Regions from separate parts of the Homo sapiens genome. Here region 1 is linked to region 2. The links are contacts of gene promoters, found by promoter capture Hi-C in human tissues and cell types (Jung and others, 2019). All regions are on one chromosome and are shown on one strand. The core of a region is centred on a gene start or on the middle of the fragment in contact, and the rest is flanking DNA. Distances in the headings are between cores, read along the strand shown. Region 1 overlaps TLN1 (talin 1). Region 2 holds the start of TPM2 (tropomyosin 2).

The links. The method cuts DNA at HindIII sites, captures the fragments that hold promoters and counts their contacts. A contact is called where the count stands out against the background at its distance.
Region 1: a fragment that was not itself captured here is called in contact with the fragment with the promoter of TPM2 in region 2 in 6 of the 25 tissues and cell types used here (IMR-90 fibroblasts, adrenal gland, aorta and 3 more).

What each region holds. Positions count from the first base shown.
Region 1 is chr9:35,724,154-35,730,703 of GRCh38, reverse strand. TLN1 (talin 1) reads left to right here. Exons shown (of 57, transcript NM_006289.4): 2 at 4,977-5,139; 3 at 5,383-5,480; 4 at 5,745-5,874; 5 at 5,980-6,132; 6 at 6,370-6,512. The coding sequence starts at 5,010. Among named protein-coding and RNA genes, the nearest start is that of TLN1, 4.8 kb to the left of the region's middle. RefSeq lists enhancers at 342-401, 2,797-3,510, 3,511-4,223 and a silencer at 3,498-3,792. The HindIII fragment of the contact is 3,260 bases long and covers 193-3,452 here.
Region 2 is chr9:35,686,709-35,693,870 of GRCh38, reverse strand. TPM2 (tropomyosin 2) reads left to right here and starts at 3,946. Exons shown (of 9, transcript NM_003289.4): 1 at 3,946-4,167; 2 at 4,600-4,725. The coding sequence starts at 4,054. RefSeq lists a silencer at 2,529-2,608 and an enhancer at 5,504-5,981. The HindIII fragment of the contact is 5,966 bases long and covers 383-6,348 here.

The sequences.
Region 1 (6,550 bases), core at 573-3,072, 39 kb before region 2:
AACTCTCCCATGCTCATCTTATCATCCGTTCCCATCCTTAGTTCTACCTCCCTCACCAACCTTTAATCCGCACATCCTACCTGAATTTACCCTCATCAAAACCTGAGCTTTCCCATCATTTTAAATTACTCTCCTACCATTTTCACCCAGTCATGTACCTACATTCCACCTGGTCATCTGCTGAATACCCTACTCCCATCCCCTGCTGTGTGTCACCCCCTGGATCTAAGCCTCTTTTAATTTCTTGGACCATTTGTAGATCCCCTTCCCCCACTCCCCAACAGAAAAGAGGAAACGAGACCCAAAGAGGAAACTGGGTCTTGCTGATCCCACGCCCAGCCAGGCCACTGACCACACCCCCACTTCACTCCCAGCCTGACCCTGCCACTGACCACAGCACTATCCTCTACTCAGCCTGACCCAGCCACTGGCTGTACCCCATCCCCCATCCCAGCTCCAGCTTTACTTAGACATTGCCAATGTCCCTTCACTTTCCCACCCCCACCCCAGTCTGATTTAGTGACTGACCACAGGCCCAGCTCTTCTCAACCTCCTATAGCCTGACCTGGCCTCTGACCTCACCCCATCATTCCCTGACTTAGCCACCATCCATGTAATCATTCCCCTTCCCCCAACCTGATGCAGTGACTGGTCATATATGTATCTTATGTATATGTATTTTTCCAAACACCATCATCACCAGCATTCTTTTTCTACACCCTGTCTTCTCATCCTTTTTCTACACCCTGTCTTCCCCATTCCCAGCCTGATGCAGTCACTAACCCAACCCCATCTGCCCCTAGTGGCTACTAATCATATACTCATACCCTTTTTCCCCACAGCCTAACCACATCCCGTAACCACAGCCTCATCCTCACATTCTCTGCCCAACCTGATCCTTTCCCCTCTTCCCAATTCGTCGCCTAAACTCAAGCTGCCCCAGCCGCTAAAGTGGCTGCTGATGATAGGAAGCTGTGGGACTCTAACCTGTCTACCTTAGTAGTTATTAGGTCCTGTCATTTCTACCTCCCCAAACTTGTTCTGAGTGACATCTTCCTCAATGCCATTCCAACTCCGGCTTCATTACCTTTAATTTGTACTAATACAGTGTCCTTCTAACTAATCTCCAAGGTAACTGCCAGAGTTATTTTTCTAAAATCCAGTTCCGGTTATGTCTCTTCTCTGCTCAAAGACTCCCTTGGCTTCCTTTTGTCCTCCAATAAGTAAAATTCCTCATACCCCTCTCCAGTCTTCCTCTGCCTTTCCATCCTAACCCTGACTTCCCCACCACTGCTCCCTTGCAGGTACCCCTGTGCTTCAACAGCCTGCCTGCTCACTTCCCTGAATGCTCCTCCACGATTTACTGCTTCTCCATCTTTGCTTATGCTATTTCTCTGCCTGGAGTGAAAACTACCCCTGACACATCTCCAGCTGGCTGGCGTAGTGGAGAAAGCTTGGGCTTTGCAGTCAGAAACCTGGGTTCGGATCCTGGCTTCACAACTTATTATTTGGAGAAGTATTTGAACAAGTATTTAACATCTTTGAGTCTGTTTTCTGATCTGTAAAAATGGAAATAATGACACCTACTGTAAGGATTAAATGAAATTATGTATACAATGCAAGTGACATAGTCAATAAATGGCAGATCACTATTGTTTTTTATTATCTCTATTTTTTAAAATTCTAGCTTCAAATGATACTTATCATGGAGACTTTTTGGTTCCCCTTCCCTGACCTAAAGGGATCTCTCTGAGCACACACCTTTTGGCTCTTACCACATCCTGCCCTCCGTTGTGATTCTGTACTTGGCTTATTCACTCATCTCGTGGACTGGGAGCCCTTTGAACTCAAAGGCTAGGTCTTACTGATCTTGGTCCCCAGCCACTGAAAGTTTGGCCCAGGGTCTTCCCCACAGCTGGCCCTCAAGGAATGCTTGCTGGGTGAATGGAGAATGTCTACATAATGGGAGGAGAGACACTGGGTGCCGGGTGTGCTTGTTATGGAGGTTATCTGTGCAAAAGCTGTGTGCATAGGATGGGCTCCCTAGGAGAAGATAATGCAGTCGTGATGGGATCTGTGTGGGGGCTGTGTGATTGAGATAATGTGTGTATAGAGAGAGTAAGGTAGCTTTGTGGGAAAGAGCTCTGCCTAGGCTGGGGTGCATCTGGGGAGAATGAGTGTGCATTTGAGTATGGAGGGGCTGTACCGGGGGAAGTTCTGTGCAGCCCTTCAGCTAGCTGCCCAGTCCAGCTCTAAATGAGTCTCCAGCAGCCTGAGGCCGGATATGTCAGTCTCACCCACAGCCCTCCCCCACTGCCAGCGGTTGCGGACTCAGAGGCCAAATTTGGTAACAGACTGAGTGTTACTCCCCCATCCCTCTTATATTCTGACTGTCTTAAGCTCTTTCCTTTTGTTCCTGTCTGTAACTCCCTATCTTTCTGCAATTCCCCTTGTGGGTATCTGCTCTGACTATATTCTCCAAGTACCCCAACTTTCTTAGCTCCAATACTCTTACATTCCATTCCTTGCTGGGATTTGACCTCCTGTCCTCCATTCCCCCCCTCCAATTGCCCAACTTCTTTGGAATGCATCGCAGGAATGTATTGAGGGAGGAGGAGTTCCCTGGGAGGGGGACACGGCAGTGGGGAGTTGCTGTTCCATCAAACACAATGGAAAAGGGAGCAAAGTTCTCAGGCCAAAGGAGGAATGAGCTAGCTTCTACTCATACTTGTAGCAGCCTTGTTCTTTGCCACCACCACCCACAATTCACTGATCAGTTCTTCGCGTCCACACACCCTCTTGTAGCTGTGTGAATATCCACTCTGGACCAGCTGGGGAGTAAGGGTAGGCATGACTCAGCTCCCTTATCGGGGTCTCACCAGAGGCTTCCGTGCTTGAGGAGGAAGGGGGTGTCTAAGTGTCCAGAGGAAATGGGGGGAGACATGCAGTTTCAGCTTAGTGTGAAGGGTCCTTTCAGTCCTGCTTCTTGGCTCCACAGACTCCTCCAGCTTCTCGGATCCACCAGCCCAGCCCTCATTCTTTCATGGTCAGCAACCCCATAGCCAGGTCTGTCCAGCTGGGACACAAGCGGATAGTAATAAGGTTGGGCAAAGTGCCCCAGGAGTGGGGAGGGGGCAGAGAGCTGGAACTGGGGAGACTGGGAGGGTCCTCTCTTATTGGGGAGTAAAGACAGAGAGCTGTGGTTCTTCTCTTTTGAGACTCTGGACTGCTTGTAAGGTCAGAAATGGTCTATCTGCCACTTGGTACCAGACCGCTGATCTAGACCATTTTCATACCTGCCTCCTGTCTCTTGTTTCTACTTAGATTTTCAATTCTCCTCATCCCATCTCTCCTAACTTCTTTACCCTCTACCCCTTCTTAACTTCCCTGGCTTTCAAATGCCTTCTGTATCCTAACACCCCCATCTCTGCTTTCCAGCCTTCCCCTCTCACCCTGCTTTTCCCCATTTGAGGCTTGTAGTTTGCCAGGAGGGGAATGGGCAGCTTGTATTTGCCCATTCTCTTAGTTAAGAGGCACCCAATCCCTGTACCAAGCAGGGGCACATCAGCAGCAGCCGGGCAGACTTGTCCTCTTGCAGCCTGTGCGCCACCTGCTGCCTCCAGTGCCTCCTCTAGCCTGCTGAGAGGGGGTGCCAGGAGGGTGGAAGAAGGTGGGGTAGGACTAGTATTCTGAGCTGCACTGAAAATACAGTCAGGGGAAGTGGGTGAGACAGAGCAGAATTCGAGACAGACTTGCTGAAGAGGAGAAAGCATGGGAGGAGTTGCAGGACTGAGTATTAACTTGATGACTTGGAACAAGCAAGGACTGAGTTACAGGGACTGGGTCCTTTCTCTGGCCTGTCTTGAAAATGTTTCCTGGCCTCCCAGAGTCTATTTCCCCTTCTCCAAAACACAAGAGTTGACCAGATAACTTCTGAGATAGATCCCTTTGAGTTAGAGAATCACATTTCTAGCTTGACTGCCTGGGAAGCCCAGTACAGGGCTAGGCTCCTTCAGAAGGCCCCCGCATCTCAGGTTAGAAAAAAGCTGGGGCAAGAGCGGACCCCTGAATGGCTTGAGCAACCAGTATTTGGTCTCCCTGCCAGGCTAGCTAGAGTTTGTTTGCAGGCTTCAAGAGCCTTAGGGAATTATAACATCTTCATTTTGCAGAGAAGGCAGCTAAAGCCATGAGAAGGAAGGTCACGTGGTGAGAAGAGAGCTCTGAAAATCCCGGACAGGGAAGAGCCAGCAGGACACAGCAGGAGACAAAGAGAGAAAAATACTGAACCAGGCAAAAATGAAAAGAAGGCAGGAGTAGGGCTGAGAAAGGTGATCAGGGACAAGGGGCAAGAGAGATACTTGGATGAAAGTAGGGAGGTACAAATTCCAGTGGTGGGGCAGGGCAGTGTCCTCAGGTAGCACTGCATTTCAGACCTGCTATTGTACCTTGCAGACCAGCTTCTCCTTTCCCTCAGATGTCTTAAATTGTTAGGACTTGGCCGGGCGTGGTGGCTCACGCCTGTAATCCCAGCACTTGGGGAGGCCAAGGTGGATCACGAGGTCAGGAGATCGAGACCATCCTGGCTAACATGGTGAAACCCCGTCTCTACTAAAAATACAAAAAATTAGCCAGGCATGGCAGCGGGCGCCTGTAGTCCCAGCTACTGGGGAGGCTGAGACAGGAGAATGGCGTGAATCCAGGAGGCGGAGCTTGCAGCGAGCTGAGATCGCACCACTGTACTCTAGCCTGGGCAACAGAACGAAACTCTGTCTCAAAAAAAAAAATTGTCAGGACTCATTCTTTTGATGTAAATAATTTTTCACTCTTTAAAATTATTAAATACAATGAAAACAACCTTATTACCATCTACTTTGGTGAGTCCCTTTCAAAAACACTCTTCCCTTGGACTCCACCATCTGGGGGGCCTCTTCTCCCACCAGAAGAGTGTATTCTAATGCCCTGATGCCATGGGTCAGGTATAGCCAGGCTGGAGAAAAGAAGCTGCCACCATGGTTGCACTTTCACTGAAGATCAGCATTGGGAATGTGGTGAAGACGATGCAGTTTGAGCCGTCTACCATGGTGTACGACGCCTGCCGCATCATTCGTGAGCGGATCCCAGAGGCCCCAGCTGGTCCTCGTGAGTCTGACTCCCCCGGTGGCTGGAGTGGGAGTCTTCAGTCCCTTCTTGTTCCCAGGCTCTCGGCCTTGAGAGTTGACCCCTTTGTCCCCTAAGACTACTCACCCCTCAGGTCTGTGTTCCATGGTTCCCTCGTTCTTTAGGCCCAAGGTCATGGGAGAAATAGTCAGGGGCAACATGGTACAAGCTGTTCAGCCACATTGGGGTCTTCATAAGCCTAAAGTGATCCATCCTCTCTTTTAGCCAGCGACTTTGGGCTCTTTCTGTCAGATGATGACCCCAAAAAGGGTATATGGCTGGAGGCTGGGAAAGCTTTGGACTACTACATGCTCCGAAATGGGGTAAGTATCCTTTCATCAAGGACCACCACATCCCCTTCCATCAGCTTCTCCCTGTTCCACCTCCTGTTTTCAGCACCCACATCTGTTGTCTCTTAGCCCTCCCCATGCTTTCTTCCTATTAACAGACAGTCATAATTCCCTGCTTTTGAACGAACCACCATAGTCTTCCTTTCAGTGCTCCACTCTCTCCCCTCGGGCTGTGTAAAGAGGAAATAATACCCCTAGCTCAGAGTAGGCCCCTGTCTCTTCTTCCTGCCCTAACAGGACACTATGGAGTACAGGAAGAAACAGAGACCCCTGAAGATCCGTATGCTGGATGGAACTGTGAAGACGATCATGGTGGATGACTCTAAGACTGTCACTGACATGCTCATGACCATCTGTGCCCGCATTGGTAAGGGGCCCTAGTACAGTTGAAAGCCTGGGCCAGAAAGCCTCAACTCTCTCAAAAGGCATGGATGCAGTACCTGGGAAGCTAACAAGCCATCTCCTTCCTCAGGCATCACCAATCATGATGAATATTCATTGGTTCGAGAGCTGATGGAAGAGAAAAAGGAGGAAATAACAGGGACCTTAAGAAAGGACAAGACATTGCTGCGAGATGAAAAGAAGATGGAGAAACTAAAGCAGAAATTGCACACAGATGATGAGTGTAAGCAGAACTAGAAAAAAGAGGGCTTTTGAAATGGGAAGGGTGGGAAGGGGCTTCAGCATCTGCTTCTGCCAGGCACTGTTTTACACCCTGGGGATACATCAGTGAGAAAACAAAGTCCTACACTCATGGGACTTACATTTAAGTGAGGGGAGGTAGGAAATGCAGAAATAAACAGAGACCAGACAGCACAGGGGCCATGGGGGTTTGGCACTGAGGGGACTGTCTGTATCCCAGTGAACTGGCTGGACCATGGTCGGACACTGAGGGAGCAGGGTGTAGAGGAGCACGAGACGCTGCTGCTGCGGAGGAAGTTCTTTTACTCAGACCAGAATGTGGATTCCCGGGACCCTGTACAGCTGAACCTCCTGTATGTGCAGGTATGCAGAGGACTTGGCTGGGGTGGGGCAGGAATAGG
Region 2 (7,162 bases), core at 2,697-5,196:
AGGGTAGCTTGAGCCTAGGAGTTTGAGACCAACCTAGGCAACATAGTGGCACACCATCTCTATTTAAAAAAAAAAAAAAAAGGGCCGGGTATGATGGTGCACATGTGTAGTCCCAGCTACTGGAGGAGACTGAGGCGGAGAGAGCACTTGAGCCCAGAAGGTCAAGGCTGCAGTGAGCCAAGCCGTGATTGTGTCTCTGCACTACAGCCTGGGTGACAGAGCCAGACCTTGTCTCAAAAAAACATAAATATGCCAGGCCCGGCATGGTGGCTCACGCCTGTAATCCCAGCACTTTGGGAGGCCAAGGCAGGCAGATTATCTGAGTTCAGGAGTTCAAGACCAGCCTAGCTAACACAGTGAAACCCCGTCTCTACTAAAAATATAAAAAGTTATCTGGGCATGGTGGCGGGCGCCTATAGTTCCAGCTACTTGGGAGGCTGAGGCAGGAGAATGGCGTGAACCTGGGAGGCGGAGGTTGCAGTGAGCCGAGATTGTGCCACTGCACTCCAGCCTGGGCAACAGAGCGAGACTCCGTCTCAAAAAAACAAAACAAACAAACAAAAAATACAACAGTTAGCTGGGTGTGATGGCTTATGCCTGTAGTCCCAGCTACTCGGGAGGCTGAGGCGGGAGAATCACTTGAACCTGGGAGGCGGAGGTTGCAGTTAGCTGAGATCGCCCCACTGCACTCCAGCCTGGGTGACAGCGCGAGACTCTGTCTCAAAAAAATAAACAAATAATAATAATAATAAATAGGCCAGGCGTGGTGGTTCACGCCTGTAAGCCCAGCACTTTGGGAGGCCAAGGCAGGCGGATCACTTGAGGTCAGGAGTTCGAGACCAGCCTGGCCAACATGGTGAAACCCTGTCTCTACTGAAAATACAAAAATTAGTCAGGCATGGTGGTGCATGCCTGTAGTCCCAGCTACTCAGGAGGCTGAGACAGGAGAATTGCTTGAACCTGGGAAGCGGAGGTTGCAGTGAGCCAAGATCGCACCACCGCACTCCAGCCTGGGCAACAGAGCAAGACTGTTTCAAAATAAATAAATAAAATAATAAATAAATCTTTCCAACTGCATATCTGTTGTGAGACAGGATTTTCTTCATATGTCTCAGTAACCAACATATAGCAACAGATCAAATATGGAAGGAGATATTGATAATACAGCTGTCCCCTTGGAAGCCAGAGAGTAAAGAGATTCGTAAAAATGTAAAATAATTTCCATACTCTCATTAATTCGGGGAATGGGAATATAGTTATCTTTCATTTAGAACATTATGTTAACATGATTAATGTGTAATGAGTTTATTTTTGTTATTTTTAACGAATTGATACATATTTAAAATTTTTCTCAAGTTTCATTTTAATATGGCAACTATTGGTAGATATAACCCACTTCAACAAAAAAGCTGTTTGGGGGTCTTCAATACTTTTTAAGAGTGTAATGGGTTCTAAGACCAAAAGACCCACACCGTATTAGTATATTTGATAAGTACCCAGAAACTGGTACATAAAAAACTCATCTGGCAAATGTTCATGAAGTGCCAACTCTATGCCTGGTGCTGTGATAGGCCTTGGGGATTCAGAATTGAGAACAGTCGTTTCTGTTGAGGACTCACAGACCGGCGGAGGCGCCAAACCGGTATAAGAACAGTTATACCATGGGACTAGGATGAGGGTGAGAGCCCGCACCAAGAACACGCACCTATTAGGTGAGGCGGTGGGAAGAGAAGTGGCCAGGGAAGGCTTCCCAGAAAAGCTGACACTTACTGAGTCTTAAAGGCCACCAGGAATCAGCCAAGGGGATGGGCATTTTAGGGAGAGAGAACAGAATGCATAAACTGTGGAAGCTTTAAGAAAAGTATGGCTATTTCCAGCTCCTGCACGTAGCTCATTATGAATGCAGCATGAGGTACAAGTATGAATACTGGGGGTGAGGTTGGGCATGGAAGGAGATGAGGCCAGAGAGGCAGGCAACAGCCAAAACAACGGGCCTTCTATACCATATTAAGAAATGTGGATTTTTTTTTTCTCCTCAAAACAGGCAGGGTGCCCGCACGCCTGTAATCCCAGCTACTCAGGAGGCTGAGTCGGGAGGATCACTTAAGCCCATAAGTTCAAGACCAGCCTGGGCAATCTAGCAAGCTCCCGTCTCAAAAAAGGTGGGGGGACAGGGATTAGGGAGGGGTTTTGGAGAATTTTAGATAATATTCGCATTAACTTTTAAAAAGATATTTGACAACAATGTCATGGGACAGTCAAATGAATGAATGAGTTGAGGAACTAGAAGTAAGACTACAAAACAGACTGAAGAAAACATAAGGCGCGGCCAGAGGCCAGCCCAGACCGACCCGAGGAGGAACCTCCTTGGTAGAAGGCAGCCTCTCCAGGATTAGGTGGTTGTGAGACGCGAAGGGCAGGGGATACCCAGTGGTCTAGCATAGGCTACTGGTGGATGAGGCGTCTTCCACGGAGTTAGAGGAACACTGCGAGGTCAGGCCAGGGTTGCTCTCCGTGTGGCTAGCAGGCAGCTAAACAGATCTGAATGCATTTCCACGCCACCTCCCCACCGCCCCGGCCAGCGGCCTCGGGTTCCCACGGTCCCCAGCCCACTGCAAAATCCAGGCCTCCCGCCCCTCTATGACTGGAGGGTGGGGGCGAGGCTAGCAGCTCCCTCCCGGCTTCCTCCGCTTGTTCTCTCCTCCCCTTCCCCCTCCTCCCGGCGGCTCTCCACTTCCTTTCCCCCCACCCCACCCCAGGGAAAAACGAAAACAAACACCCTCGCGCCTCGCGCCTCCGACTCCCAGACCCCACGACCCGGCTCCGGCGCTGGTTTGGCGGCCTGGGTGGGAGAAGGCACCTCGCCCCGGACCCCCTATGCCCCGCAGCTCAGTGACTCTTCCCCTCGCCCTCCGCCTTCCCCGCCGCAGCCCGGCTCCGCCTCCCAATGGGGAAACATCCCAAAAAAGGGCAGAAAAGAAATTTCAGCATAAAGTTGGCCCACTGGGAAAGAGAGGAGCGTCCGCGGGGAGCGGGGGAGAAGAGGGAAGGCGCGCGGAGGGGAGTGGGGCCAGGCGGAGCCAGGGGCGGGGAGCGGAGGGGCTCGGGACGCGTCCGGGTGGGAGCGGGGGCGGGGAACGCGCGGTGACCAGCCTGGCCGCAGCCGCGTGGAAAATATGCGGGGCACGTGGGGGGCGGGGCGGGGAGCTGGGTCCTGAGCCGCCGGGTGCTCGCAGGAAGGGCCTGGCTCCAGGGGCAGGGGCTGGGAGGGGAGGCGAGGGGATGAGAGGTCAGGCCGGTCCTGGGGGCAGCAAGCCCGGCCACACTCCCCACCGCGACCGGGGCTCTGGGCTCGCTTCCTGCTTCAGTTTCCCCAAGCTCCCGATGAGACTCCGCTACTACCACCACGTCGATAACGCAAACCTAGAGGGACTCAGGGTAAACTGAGGCACTCAAACTGCCGAGGAGCTCCGCCTCCCGAGAGACATTTAATCCGGGGGGATTTGCAGGAAACTTCTAAATTAAGGGTAGCGGCTGCTGCAGCTGAGGGGGGGCACGCCGGTCCCTGCGCCCGGGCAGCTGCCGTGAGCTCACGCCCCGAAATAGCCCCAGGGGCCCCAGCCGCAGCTGCCACTGGGTCCGGCTGTCACTCAGAGGAAGCACGGAGCCCCCAGCCCAAGGGTCCCCTCCCCTTCGCATCGCCGGGGTTTTTCCAGCCGACCGTCGGCCACTTTTTCCTCCGACGGCTGGCAGGGAAGAGGGGGATGGGGGCGGGACCCCAAGGGAGGCGGTCCCCAGTGGGTGGGCGAAGGGGGCGGCCGCACCCCCCGGCCGGGCCGTGCTTCTGCCCCTACAAGGTTTGGGCCGAGGTGGGGGAGGGTCCTGGTTGCCGGCCCCGCCCGGTCCCTCCCCGCCTTTTAGGCGCCCGCGTGGCCGGGACGTCCCAGTCCCGCTCCGTCCTCCTCGCCTGCCACCGGTGCACCCAGTCCGCTCACCCAGCCCAGTCCGTCCGGTCCTCACCGCCTGCCGGCCGGCCCACCCCCCACCGCAGCCATGGACGCCATCAAGAAGAAGATGCAGATGCTGAAGCTGGACAAGGAGAACGCCATCGACCGCGCCGAGCAGGCCGAAGCCGACAAGAAGCAAGCTGAGGACCGCTGCAAGCAGGTTAGGGCCGGGCCCAGTGCAGCCTGCTCTCCCCGCGCCTAGGGCAAGGGTGGGCCGCTGCCATGGGTCCCCCAGCCCCGGGCCTGCCCGCCAAGGCTCTCTCTCACCCAGGGTGGGGGCTGGGCCTTCGCAGTACCCTCAGGGCCTTCGCCAGAGCCGCTTCTCTCCCCTACAATAGCCTGGGGAAGCCCCAGGCCCCTGGTTTCCACTCTGCCTTTGCAGAGCGCGGTTGGTCCTGCTCCTTGGGGCCTGAAGTTTTCTCTGTACCCTCAACGGGTCCCACCAGTACCCTTGACTGTACTGTCCCTTTTATGTTATTCCGCTTCCATCCCAGTAGCCTCCAAATCTTAGTAGCGCCCCTACACACACCGCGTCTCCATTCTGGGCCTGGGCCCCCTCCCAGCCTGGCTGACCAAGTCCCCTCTGTCCCAGCTGGAGGAGGAGCAGCAGGCCCTCCAGAAGAAGCTGAAGGGGACAGAGGATGAGGTGGAAAAGTATTCTGAATCCGTGAAGGAGGCCCAGGAGAAACTGGAGCAGGCCGAGAAGAAGGCCACTGATGTGAGTGTGGACTTGGGGGACAATGGGAGGAGTTAGGGCTCTGGGAAGGGGCCCCCCGGGTATGGGAATAAGAGGATTGGGGCACCTTATCCCCTTATGTCCCCAGCGCCAGGAGAGAAATGGTTTCATCTCAGTAACCAGGGCTAGGGTAAACTTACACAAGTAATCCAAGACAGTGGATAAATCAAAACCACCTACCACTTCCCCCAGAGGACTTAGCCCTGTAATTCTGTTTGGTTCCAGCTTTTAGAATGTACAGTGATCAAGCAATGAGTCATTGTGGGGGTGGAAGGTATAAGAATTTACCATCTACCTCAATTAATCCTCCAGCTGAAATTGGAGAGGAGACTGCAGCCGTTTGGGGATGGGGGGATGTGGATGTGAGGTACTAGCCTGCAGGAGGAGGGAGAGGGATCCAGAGATGAGACCCCACTTGAGTTACAACCCTAAGGGGCCATTAGAAATTCCCTGGCCTTGACCTCTGGCTTCAGCAGCCCTGCTGTGCCCTGGGGCCCCAGCTCAGGTTCTAATGGCTCCTCATTTACCCTCATTAAGCTGTCAGCCTGGAGACCATGCCAGGCCACAGGGCAGAGGGACAGGGCCACAAATGCCAAAGCAGCTACCTTGGCAGGTCATTTACCCTGAGATTTCTCTGCCCACCCCACAACCCCAACCAGACTTCACTTCCTGCCATTCCCAACCCCCAGCTTAAGGTAGGAGAATGGCCATATGGCTTTGGTGTGGTGGTAGTTTCCCCATTCTCTGCCTCAGTTTCCCCATCTTCCTTCCACCCAGGATTGTTTTAAGATGAACCTATGGTTAGATTAGCATAAAGCATGGTCTGAACATCAGAGATGACATAGCTGTTTGTGTCGACTGCTCATGTTCCCAGCCCCCCAGGGGTTGGGCTTCTGTGACCTCCAGCCTCCAGTTTTGGTTCTCCACCAGTCCTGGCACTTGGGAGGGAGCTGACCTGCAGCTGCTAGCACAGACAACCCTGGGCATCTGACACTCTATAAATAACCAAGGCCCAGTGCAGCTGGAGGCAAGATTGGAAACCCAAGTTGCTGGTGGGGGCTGGAGGGGCAGGGGGGACAGGGACAGAGCTGGGGAGGCAGAGCCGCAGCACCAGGAGCAGATAGGAAAGACTGCCCAAGCTTCCTGGTGACCTTGAACACAGCACTCAACTTACATGGTGCCTCAGTTTCTCCCTCTCTCTTGCTTCCCATTTTTCTAATGGGGACAGTAGTGCCTGTCCTGTGGTTAGAGAGCCGCCCCCGTAACTGGGAAGAGCTTGAGAGGCAGGAAATGGCACATATCAGTCCCATGATGAGGACCCCAGGACTTCCCAAACTTTCCAGAGTCTTTTGTCACCCCACCATCATGCAGAGTTTTTCTTTTACAGTCTCACCTCTCTCTAGGGTAGTACTCCAATGTCCCCCACAGTGATTCTTCCCAACCCCCAATGCTGTCCCCAGAATGCTTCCACACTGTCATCCGGCCCTGTGCCCATGATGGGCTCTTGTCACTCTAGGTGGCCAAGCTCCAGGTGCCTTCAGCACCTGGAAGACAAGCTACCATCTACTCTCTATATATGGTGCTGTTTCTCCTGCCCTACAGTCCGACCAAGGACCTGCTTCCTATGCTGTGTCCAAGTGCTGCCCCCAGCCCCTCCCCCCACCTCCTTTCCCTACACAGGTCCTCTCTCCTTTCCACTCTGAAATCTCAGGGTCTCTGTGTCCTTGTTTTTGACAGAGAAAGGGGATAACCTAATATTTATGGAATGTGGACCCTGTGCAGGCAATGTACTCAGTGCTTTCTGCATGTTATTTTACAATTTCCCAAACTTGGCTTATCATCAGAATCACTCGGGGGCTTTAAAAAAAAAAGAGAAGATTCCCAAGCCCCCGCCCTACACATCCCAATTCAGTGGATCTAGCATGGAGTAAGAGAACCTGTTTAGTTTTATGAGTCTCACCGAAGGTCCTGTTGATTAACTGAGTATTAAAAGCAGTGGATTATCTCAGAACAGCCTTAAGAAGGAGGAACTGTTATTGTTAACTCCAACTTGTGAAGGAGGAAACTGAAGCTTAGAGAGGCTAAATAAGTTGCCCACAGTTACACAGGTGTTGAGTGGCTGAGCCGTGGCTCAAAGACAATCTGACTCAGAGCCGATGCTCTTAACACGTGGCTGCCCTGCTCCTCTCATTTTCCTTTACTGGCGCTCGCCTTGCTCTGCCCTTTTTCTCAGTGTTTGACCAGTTTTTATGGATTTTTTCCAAAACCTCCATGGTTTTGCCTCCTACTGCAAGCCCAGGGGCTGAGTAGACATCCCTCACACTGCCCCTGCATTGCCCCCAGCTCTCTGCTGGCCTTGGCAGGGAGCCCCTTGCTACAGCCATGGGTATTCCTTATAGGCCTGCCTCTTGGGCTTCTT